Linked DNA regions of Homo sapiens: region 1 is linked to region 2. The links are contacts of gene promoters, found by promoter capture Hi-C in human tissues and cell types (Jung and others, 2019). All regions are on one chromosome and are shown on one strand. Each heading gives the region's core, a stretch centred on a gene start or on the middle of the fragment in contact. The rest is flanking DNA. Distances are from core to core; before and after follow the strand shown.

Region 1 (5,186 bases), core at 2,307-4,806, 1.5 Mb after region 2:
TCTCCTTCCCGTCCATCCCAGCAGGCCCCAGGGCGAGGGTCCTCCGGCTGCCGGCCCTGAAGCTGCAGTAACCCTGCCATCTGTCTCTCAAAAGGGCCCCCTGCGCCTGCTCTCCCTTGCCCCGGCGCGCCCACCCCGAGCCCCCTCCCCACCGTGGCCGCCCCTCCACGACGAAGGCCGTCGTCCTTCGTAACGGTCAGAGTGAAGACCCCCCGGCGGACCCCCATCATGCCCACGGCCAACATCAAGCTCCCACCAGGCCTGCCCTCCCACCTGCCTCGCTGGGCACCGGGTGCCCGGGAGGCGGCTGCCCCAGTGCGGCGCCGGGAGCCACCTGCCCGCCGCCCGGACCAGATACATTCCGTGTACATCACGCCCGGGGCAGACCTGCCAGTGCAGGGCGCCCTGGAGCCCCTAGAAGAGGATGGCCAGCCACCTGGGGCCAAGCGGAGGTACTCGGATCCCCCAACGTACTGCCTGCCCCCCGCCTCGGGCCAGACCAATGGCTGAGAGCCACAGCTGACAAAGTCTGCATGTCCGAGGACGGCCCCTGCACTGGAGCTGGGCGCCAGAGCTGCAGAGCTAGTGTTCGGCCCTCAGAGAAGGATCCAGAATCAAAAGCTCAAGAGTGACGTGAGGTGGGCACCGGCCCCAAGTGCAGAGTCAAGGCAGGGAGAGGCCGGCTGGAGCCAGGCCCCCTCGCACGCAGCCCCCAAATCATGGACGCACCTGTGGGGAGCACCACATCTCCACCTGCGGCCTCACATCTCCCCACTCCCCTTTTTGTACGTTTAACTGTTTCTTTGTACGTGGTTTACGTAACTTTAAACTGTAACAGCCTTAATGGAAGACCAAATGGTTTTTTATATGTGTATGTACAAAGTTTTCTATTAACGCTGCCCGTCTCCCTTATAACCTGGACGTGAGCTGTCAGAGCAGAAGCCACTAGGCCACTGCGCGTCTGAGGCTCAGACCCTGCTGTGGTTGGCTTGGGGTGGCCAATGGGCTGGGACCCTCCATGAGAGTTTTGGACACTTGGGTCACCTGACCCGTGCCTCTCTGACACATGTCTCCGGGGGGCAGCCACCTGGCCAATGTGCATTTTTGCACATGCTGGAACCTTCCATGGGGGTCTGGGCTATTGGCTGGAGCCAGGACATGAGTCAGGGGCACCATGGACCTCACGTGCCAGGGAGACTTGAATGTGGCTGTCACTCTTCCGGACGCCAAGGGCTGCAGGAGGCTGCTTTTGGCACTACCCACCCCGTGTGACAGAATAGGAGCCAGCGACTCAGGACTGCTCACGGGTCAGGAGGGCAACGCCTGAAGTCAGACCTCCCTATAGGTCAACAGGGACAACCTGGGGATCTCTGGAGCAGGGCCCTCCTCTCTCAGGCTTGGCCCACTCCCCCAGACACCTGGACACGTGGCCACAAATCTGGGACAAGGGGCCCCCGCACAGCATGAAATAAAAAGTGCCTGAGAAGTGTGTGCATGGGACGCCTGCTCATATGGGATCGGGCTTGGAAGAACAGGGCCGGTGGGTGGGGGTCTGCCCTGTGGCCTCAGCCAAGAAGGGTGCAGAATATGGGTGGAACACTGTCCTCAAAGTTCTGTCTTGATCCTCCACCAAACAGGGAGCTCCCAGCAGAGCCTCACTTGGCCAGGAGCGCCTGCTGTCCTGGCAGCCCTCTCTGGCCTCCCTGATTCAGTGCCCAGCCTCTGGAGCCTAAATGTCAGCTGCAGCAGCCACCCATCCAGCAGAGGTGGCCAGTTCCTGGTGGGCCCAGCAGGACAGGAACAGATGGGCTCCCAGGCTGCCATCGGATGGGAGTCGTGGGAACTGGCTGGCTGGTATTGGTTGGGGCACCGTGAAGAACCCAAGTTCAGACAGCACATGCCAGAGGTTGAGGGGCTTCTCCAAGGCCACACAGTTGGGAGGGGCATGGCTGGGATTTAGACTCTGCCCTGCCAGCCTCTAGAGGCCCCTTTGATGGGCCCTGGGTTTGGTCTCCATTGTTTGTTGTGGGTTTTTTTCTTGAAACACGGTCTCGCTCTGTCACCCAGGCTGGAGTGCAGTGGCGCGATCTCGGCCCACTGCAGCCTCCACCTCTCGGGTTCAAGCGATTCTCCTGCCTCAGCCTCCCGAGTAGCTGGGATTACAGGCACGCACAACCAAGCCCAGCTAATTTTTGTGTTTTTTGATAGAGACAGGGTTTCACCATGTTGGCCAGGCTGCTCTCCAAACTCCTGACCTCCAGTGATCCATCCACCTCACCCTCCCAAAGTGCTGGGATTACAGGCGTGAGCCACCGCACCTGGCCCTCCATGGTATTTTCTTTTTTTTTTTTTTTTTTTGAGACGGAGTCTTGCTTTGTTGCCCAAGCTGGAGTGCAGTGGCACAATCTCGGCTCACTGCAACATCCACCTCCTGGGTTCAAGCGATTCTCCTGCCTCAGTCTCCCAAGTAGCTGGGATTACAGGCACCCACCATCACGCCCGGCTAATTTTTGTATTTTTAGTAGAGACGGGGTTTCACCATGTTGGCCAGGCTGGTCTCAAACTCCTGACCTCAGGTGATCCATCTGCCTCAGCCTCCCTAAGTGCTGGGATTACAGGTGTGAGCCACCGCACCTACCCGTCTATGATATTTTTCAAGGACATCAGGCCCACTGGTGTAACCAAGGTGCAGATGACCTAAGGTGTGGGAAAACATGAAGGCTGCATGCCAGGCCCTGGTTCCTGTGAAGCCCCCACCCTCATCCTGTCACTCCAGAAGAGAGGCACTGCAAGGCATAGGGGTACTCAGCTTCCAGGTACTGAGGTGGGCTGGGAAGGGGTTCTCCATGGGGGTCTGGGCGTTAGGGGGGACCCAGCCCCACCTTGCTCACTCTCAGGCAGAGCTGTCTCATGTGCCCCTTGAGGCAGGTACTGTCACACTGTCCATTTCCCGGGGGAAGAAGCGGATCCAGAAAAGTTAAACTCTCCCAGGGCCGAGGATGGAATCAGAGCTGGAGCTGTGACCTGGAAACCCATAACCACAATACAGATGAGCCCTGCTGAGGTGGGGGAAGCCTTGGATTCCTGAATCCCAGGCTACAGAAATCGGGAAGGGTGTGTGGACGTGAAATAGCTCCGACTGGGAAGAATCCAGGTAGGAGTGGGGTGCGGGGAGGTACTTTGAGCAGGCAAAACAGAACAAAAGGGCACACTGCACGCGGGTCTGACACCAGAAGACCCCGGTCGTCCTATCATTCCCGAAGGGTTAACATGCTCTCGAGGAAAAGCAAGTGATTCGCCTAAGTAAGAATGGGGTGGCGCCTCTCCTATTTTTTTAAAATAGAGATAGAGTAGCGCTATCTTGCCCGGGCTGGCCTCAAGCAATCCTTTCCCACCTCTGCCTCCTAAAATGCTGGCATTACAGCCCTGAGCCACCGCGCCCGGCCCAGCGCCCCGTCTCAAAACAAGATATTACTTCCGCTCCAAACAAAGATGGGCCAGCTAACGAGCGCGGGGGAAACATCCGCCCGGAAGGCCACTTGAAGGCACTTCCGCCCTCTCTTAACATGGAGCCGGCGGAAGGGGTGGTGTAGGGCCGGGCGATAATGGCGGCGTCGAGGCTGGAGCTAAACCTGGTGCGGCTGCTATCCCGCTGCGAGGCGATGGCAGCGGAGAAACGGGACCCGGACGAGTGGCGCCTGGAGAAGGTGAGGGGATCTCGCACTGCCGCGTAGAGCCCGACTCCCGGGGGGTGATTCCTAGGGTTGGAAGCCACCTGGCCCGACTCCCCGGCCCCAGTAGCCTCTCGGGCAGCGCCCTTTCCGGTCAGTCCCGCCACGTCCACCTGTAGCTTCCGCCCCCGTCCCTGGGACTCCGCCCCTCCCCCACTGGCCCCGCCTCCTTTACGCTTGACCCCTCCCATTTGTCGGCCCCGCCCCCCCGACTCCCATGATCAGGACATGGGAAAGACCCCCGGGTGACAATCCACTTTTCCTCCCCAGTACGTGGGAGCCCTAGAGGACATGTTGCAGGCCCTGAAGGTCCACGCGAGGTGAGTGCAGGCAGCCTCAGGGCTTTCACATCAGCACGTGGCTGTGCTACTGGACATCCCAGTACCGCTATCCCAGCTGGGACCCTTCCCTGAGCTGGGGACCATGGACAGGTTTTGTTTTTCTTCTTCCTGCCTTCCAGCAAACCGGCCTCTGAGGTGATCAATGAATATTCCTGGAAGGTGGATTTTCTGAAGGGGATGCTGCAAGCCGAGAAGCTGGTGAGAAGGGGTGCCCCTGCCCCCTCAGCCCCCATCACCGCTCACTTTGGTCCCCAGGACCTGCCCCTCCAGTGACTTATCTTCCCACATTTCTGCAGACCTCCTCCTCAGAGAAAGCACTGGCCAACCAGTTCCTGGCCCCTGGCCGTGTGCCAACCACAGCCAGAGAGCGAGTGCCCGCCACAAAGACGGTGCATCTGCAGTCACGGGCGCGGTACACCAGCGAGATGCGGAGTGAGCTACTAGGCACGGTAGGGCTCCTTCCCTGGTCCCTGGGAATCCCTTGGACAGGAATAGGGGTTCTATGCTTGTAGGCAGCCAGAACCACAATACTGTCAGATACAGGAACCCTAAGGGGGTCCAGCAATCTCTTCCCTGGGTCATCACACAAGGCTGCCCAACAGAGGGGCATTGTGGCTAAGGCTTTGCTAGATGAATAGGAATTTGGTACAAGGCAAAAATGGAATGTGTCTGGTTAAGCCCCAGAGTTGGCCCAAGAGCAGGGTTTGAGTCCTGGCTTGCAACTTACAAGACACATAAGTTTCTTCAGCCGTAAAAGAGGATGACAAGTTCCTTTCTGAGCACTTTATGTGGATCAGCTCAATCTTTTAAAATATGAGTTGTTGTGGCCAGGTGCGGCAGCTCACGCCTGTAATCCCAGCACTTTGGGAGGCCGAGGCGGGCGGATCATTTGAGGTCAGGAGTTAAGACCAGCCTGACCAACATGGAGAAACCCCGTCTTTAGTAAAAATACAAAATTAGCTGGGCATGGTGGCTCACGCCTGTAATCCCAGCTACTCGGGAGGCTGAGGCAGGAGAATCGCTTGAACCCAGGAGGCAGAGGTTGCGGTGAGCTGAGATCAAGCCATTGCACTCCAGCCTGGGCAATAAGAGTGAAACTCCGTCTCAAAAAAAA
Region 2 (5,311 bases), core at 2,506-5,005:
TGGGGTACATGAGCTGTTTGGACAAAGGCATACGATGAGTAATAATTACATCAGGGTAAATACAGGATCCATCACCTCAACCATCACCTCAAGCATTTGTTGTTTCTTTGTGTTACAAACATTCCAATTATATATATATATATATATATAATTTTTTTTTGACAGAGTCTTGCTCTGTCGCCCAGGCTGGAGTGCAGTGGCATGATCTTGGCTCACTGCAACCTCTACCTCCCAGGTTCAAGTGATTCTCCTGCCTCAGCCTCCCGAGTAGCTGGGACTACAGGCACATGCCACCACACCCAGCTAATTTTTGTATTTTTAGCAGAGACGGAGTTTCACTATGTTGGCCAGGATGGTCTCGATCTCTTGACCTTGTGATCTGCCCGCCTTGGCCTCCCAAAATGCTGAGATTACAGGCATGAGCCACCACACCCGGCCTCCAACTATACTTATTATATTAACTAATTATATTTAGCTCTTATAAAATATACATTAAATTATTGTTGATTGTAATCCCCCTGTTGTGATATCAAATACTAGATCTTATTCATTCTGTCTAACTATACTTTTTTACGCATTAATCATCCCCACTCCCCCCCAGCTATGTGCACTACCCTTCCCAGCCTCTAATAAACATCCTTCTGCTCTCTATGTCCCTGAAAGCAATTCTTTTAACTTTTGGCTACCACAAATGAATGAGAACATGCAAAGTCTGTCTTTCTGTGCCTGGCTTATTTCACTTGACATAATGACCTCCAGTTCCATTCATTTTGTTGCAAAGGACTGGATCTCATTCCTTTTTTGTGTCTGAGTAATACTCCATTGTGTATATGTACCACATTTTCTTTAACTAATTCTCTGTTGATGGACACTTAGGTTTCTTCCGAATCTGGGCTATTGTGAATAGTGCTGCAGTAAGCATGAGTGAAGAAATCTCTTCAATGTACTAATTTCCTGGCTCACATCTGTAATCCCAGCACTTTGGGAGGCTGAAGTGGGTGGATCACTTGAGGTCAGGAGTTTGAGACCAGCCTGGCCAAAATGGTGAAACCCCTCTCTACTAAAAATACAAAAATTAGCTGGGTGTGGTGGCAGGCACCTGTAATCCCAGCTAAGTGGGAGGGTGATGCAGGAGAATCTCTTGAACCTAGGAGGTGGAGGTTGTAGTGAGGTGAGAATATGCTATTGCACTCCAGCCTGGGCAATACAGTGAGACTGTCTCAAAAATAAAATTATGATTTTCTTTCTTTAGGGTATATGCCTAGCAGTGAGATTGCTGGATTGTAAGGTAGTTCTATTTTAGTTTTTGGGAAACTTCCATACTGTTCTCCATAGTGGCTGTACTAATTTACATCGCCACCAACAGTGTATGAGGATTCCCTTTTCTCTGTGTTCTCACCTGGATTCTCTATCTTTTGGACAAAGCTATTTATTGTCTTCTATCTTTTAGATAAAAGCTGTTTTAACTGGCATGAGCTTTCAAAAATTTAGATTAAATTTATTTAACCTGAAATTATCCTTTAAATATTTTAAAGTGGACAATCAGTGGCATTTAGTACATTAACATGTTGTGCAGCTACTACCTCTAGTTACAAGACATTGTCACCATTCCAAAAAGAACTTCATATCCATTCATCAGTCATTCCCCATCCCACGCTAGCCCCATTCCCTGACAACCACACATCTGCTTTCTTTCTCAGTGGATTTAACTATTCTGGACATTTCTTATAAATGGAATTATATACTATGTGGCCTTTTGTGTCTGGCTTCCTTCACTCAGCCTCATGTTCTCAAAGTGCATCCACGCTGTTGCATGTATCACTGATTCAATCTTTGCGTGGTTGCATAATATTTCATTGTGTGGTCGGACCACATTTTGTTTATCCATTCATTCATTGATCCAGTTTGCATTGTAACATAAACTTTTGTATTTTGCATCTAGCCTGTTTGCAGACTGGCAAGAAAGAGAGTGGGAGAGGAGTCACAGCCTCCTAGTTTAGTTTGTTGGGGAACTTCCATAAACTAAATAAAGTAGAAGGGCTCCTATTGGTGCAGGGAGGAGAGCTGCCCTGGCAGAGAAATTGGGCAGATCTGACTCTGTGGCCACTCAGGGAAGGTGATGAGAGAAGCCATGGCTGATAGCCTAGGTTTTTGCTGTTAGGTTTGGGATTGGAGGATTGGGGTTGGGGTCAAAAAGAGGAGGAGACCAGCAGAGTCACGTAGTGGAAGCATGCTGGGCCCATAGCCTAGAGGTCAGTGGACCATAACCATTTTCTGCTAAGAAGTTTTTGACTGGGCATGGTGGCTCACACCTATAAATCCCAGCACTTTGGGAAGCTGAGGCAGGCTGATCACTTGAACTCAGAAGTTCAAGACCAGCCCGAGCAACATGGTTAAACCCCATCTCTACTAAAAATACAAAAATTAGCCAGGTGTGGTGATGCGGGCCTGTAATCCCAGCTACTCAGGAGGCGGAGGCAGGAGAATTGCTTGAACCCAGGAGGCGGAGGTTGCAGTGAGCCGAGATCATGCCACTGCATTCCAGCAGGGACAGAGTGAGACTCTGTCTCAAAGAAAAAAAAAAAAAAAAGCGGAATTGTGATAGAGAAAGAGTAATTCACACAGAGCTGGCTCTGCAGGGGACTGGAGTTTTATTATTACTCAAATCAGTCTCCCTGAGCACTTGGGGAGCAGAGTTTTTAAGGACAACTTGGTGGGTGGAGGGGAAGCCAGTGAGCCAGCAGTGCTGATTGGTCAGAGATGAAATCAAAGCTGTCTTCTTGCGGAGAGTCAGTTCCTGGGTGGGGGCCACAAGATCAGTTGAGCCAGTTTATCGACCTGGGTGGTGCCAGCTGATCCATCAAGTGCAGGATCTGCAAAATATCTCAAGCACTGATCTTGGGAGCAATTTAGGGAGGGTCAGAATCTTGTAGCCTCCAGCTGCATGACTCCTAAACCATAATTTCTAATCTTGTGGCTAATGTTAGTTCTACAAAGGCAATCTAATCCCCAGACAAGAAGGAGGTCTGCTTTGGGAAAGGGCTGTTATCGTCCTTGTTCCAAACTATAAACTATAAACTATAAACTAAATTTCCCCCAAAGTTAGTTCACCCTATGTCCTGGAATGAACAAGGACAGCTTGGAGGTTAGAAGCAAGATGGAGTTGGTTAAGTTAGATCTCTTTCGCTGTCTCAGTCATAATTTTGCAAAGGTGGTTTCAATTTTCCAGGGGAGCAATGAGGCTCAGAGAGGGGAAGCAACCTGCCCTGCATCTCACAGCTAGAAAGCAGTGGTGCCGAGAATTAAACAGAGTCTGGACGTTTCCATGACATAGGGAAGAGATGACTTCCAGCTGAAGGTGGCAATCAGGGAGCAGCTTGCTCATAAAATTCAGGTAGGATTTGGACCCATAAAGATAGGGAAAAGCATGAAAAGACCAGCATGAACAAAGGCAGAAAAGCAAGGTGTAGGTGGTGGTGCATGGATCTAATAATCGTGATGGCAATAACAATAGCAGAATAATTATTACTATCAACATTTATAATTTATTAAATTCTTACTTTGTGTCAGGACCTGCACAAAGCACTTAAGGTGAGTGATCTTATTTAAACCTCAATACATTATTATTAATGCCTTTCTGCAGATGGAGTAACCATGGCTTGGACAGATGAAGGAGGCGCTCTCAGATGTCCTCCCAGGCAGGAATCACTAGACACCCCCATGCTCCTAACCACTGGGTCTTCTTTCCTCTCTTCCCCAACTAGGGGTGGCCGTCATGCTGGGGCTAAACCACACCTCCATGTCTGAATTCATCCTCGTCGGCTTCTCTGCCTTCCCCCACCTCCAACTGATGCTCTTCCTGCTGTTCCTGCTGATGTACCTGTTCACGCTGCTGGGCAACCTGCTCATCATGGCCACCGTCTGGAGCGAGCGCAGCCTCCACACGCCCATGTACCTCTTCCTGTGCGTCCTCTCAGTCTCCGAGATCCTCTACACCGTGGCCATCATCCCGCGCATGCTGGCCGACCTGCTGTCCACCCAGCGCTCCATCGCCTTCCTGGCCTGTGCCAGTCAGATGTTCTTCTCCTTCAGCTTCGGCTTCACCCACTCCTTCCTGCTCACCGTCATGGGCTACGACCGCTACGTGGCCATCTGCCACCCCCTGCGCTACAACGTGCTCATGAGCCCACGGGGCTGCGCCTGCCTGGTGGGCTGCTCCTGGGCTGGTGGCTCGGTCATGGGGATGGTGGTGACCTCGGCCATTTTCCAACTGACTTTCTGTGGATCCCATGAGATCCAGCATTTTTTATGTCATGTGCCACCTCTGTTGAAGTTGGCCTGTGGAAATAATGTACCAGCTGTGGCCCTGGGCGTGGGCTTGGTATGTATCATGGCACTGCTGGGCTGTTTTCTCCTCATCCTCCTCTCCTATGCCTTCATCGTGGCCGACATCTTGAAGATCCCTTCTGCTGAAGGTCGGAACAAGGCCTTCTCCACCTGTGCCTCTCACCTTATTGTGGTCATTGTGCACTATGGCTTTGCCTCTGTCATCTACCTCAAGCCCAAAGGTCCCCACTCTCAGGAGGGTGACACCCTGATGGCCACCACCTACGCAGTCCTCACGCCCTTCCTCAGCCCCATCATCTTCAGCCTCAGGAACAAAGAACTGAAGGTTGCCATGAAGAGGACCTTCCTCAGCACACTCTATTCCTCAGGCACCTGAGTAGCTGGTGTGGAAGTGCTGATAGAATATGATAGGAGGATGACCATCACCTTGTCTGCACAGTGTGGCTAGTAATGCTTACCTTGTAAGGCAGGTGTAAAGATTTCTGTATATGACAACACTCATCACATAGTAGGTGCTCAGTAAATGTTAAAAGCATGTTTACTTCCACAACTCTTGATCTGTATGTCTTTATCTGAGTTTTAATTTTTGAGTTATAGTAGCTTTATTAAGATGTAATTCACCTACCATACAATGTACCCATTAGAGCGCACATTTCTGTGGTTTTTGCGTATTCAGAGTTATGCAACCATCATGACAATCTGGCTTAGAGTATTTTAGTCATCCAAAAAAGAAACCCAAATCCTAGTGCTTTGGAAGGCTGAGTGGGAGAATTGTTTGATGTCAGGAATTCACGATCGGTCTGGACAACATAGTGAGATGCCATCTACACACACACACAAACACATACACACACACAAGTTCTTTTTTTTTTAATTTATTACACTTTAAGTTTTAGGGTACATATGCACTACGTACAGGTTAGTTACATACATATACATGTGCCATGTTGGTGTGCTGCACCCA

The links. Contacts are between HindIII fragments. The study calls those that stand out against the background at their distance.
Region 1: the fragment with the promoter of USE1 here is called in contact with the fragment with the promoter of OR10H2 in region 2 in 1 of the 25 tissues and cell types used here (lymphoblastoid cells).

What each region holds. Positions count from the first base shown.
Region 1 is chr19:17,211,801-17,216,986 of GRCh38, forward strand. USE1 (unconventional SNARE in the ER 1) reads left to right here and starts at 3,557. Exons shown (of 8, transcript NM_018467.4): 1 at 3,557-3,707; 2 at 4,002-4,051; 3 at 4,192-4,270; 4 at 4,369-4,521. The coding sequence starts at 3,606. It overlaps MYO9B (myosin IXB), which reads left to right. Exons shown (of 40, transcript NM_004145.4): 40 at 95-1,486. The coding sequence ends at 510. RefSeq lists enhancers at 3,197-3,777, 3,541-3,860 and a silencer at 3,881-3,950. The HindIII fragment of the contact is 58,541 bases long and covers 1-5,186 here.
Region 2 is chr19:15,724,269-15,729,579 of GRCh38, forward strand. It overlaps OR10H2 (olfactory receptor family 10 subfamily H member 2), which reads left to right and starts at 3,756. Exons shown (of 1, transcript NM_013939.2): 1 at 3,756-4,784. The coding sequence starts at 3,776. The coding sequence ends at 4,723. The HindIII fragment of the contact is 21,841 bases long and covers 1-5,311 here.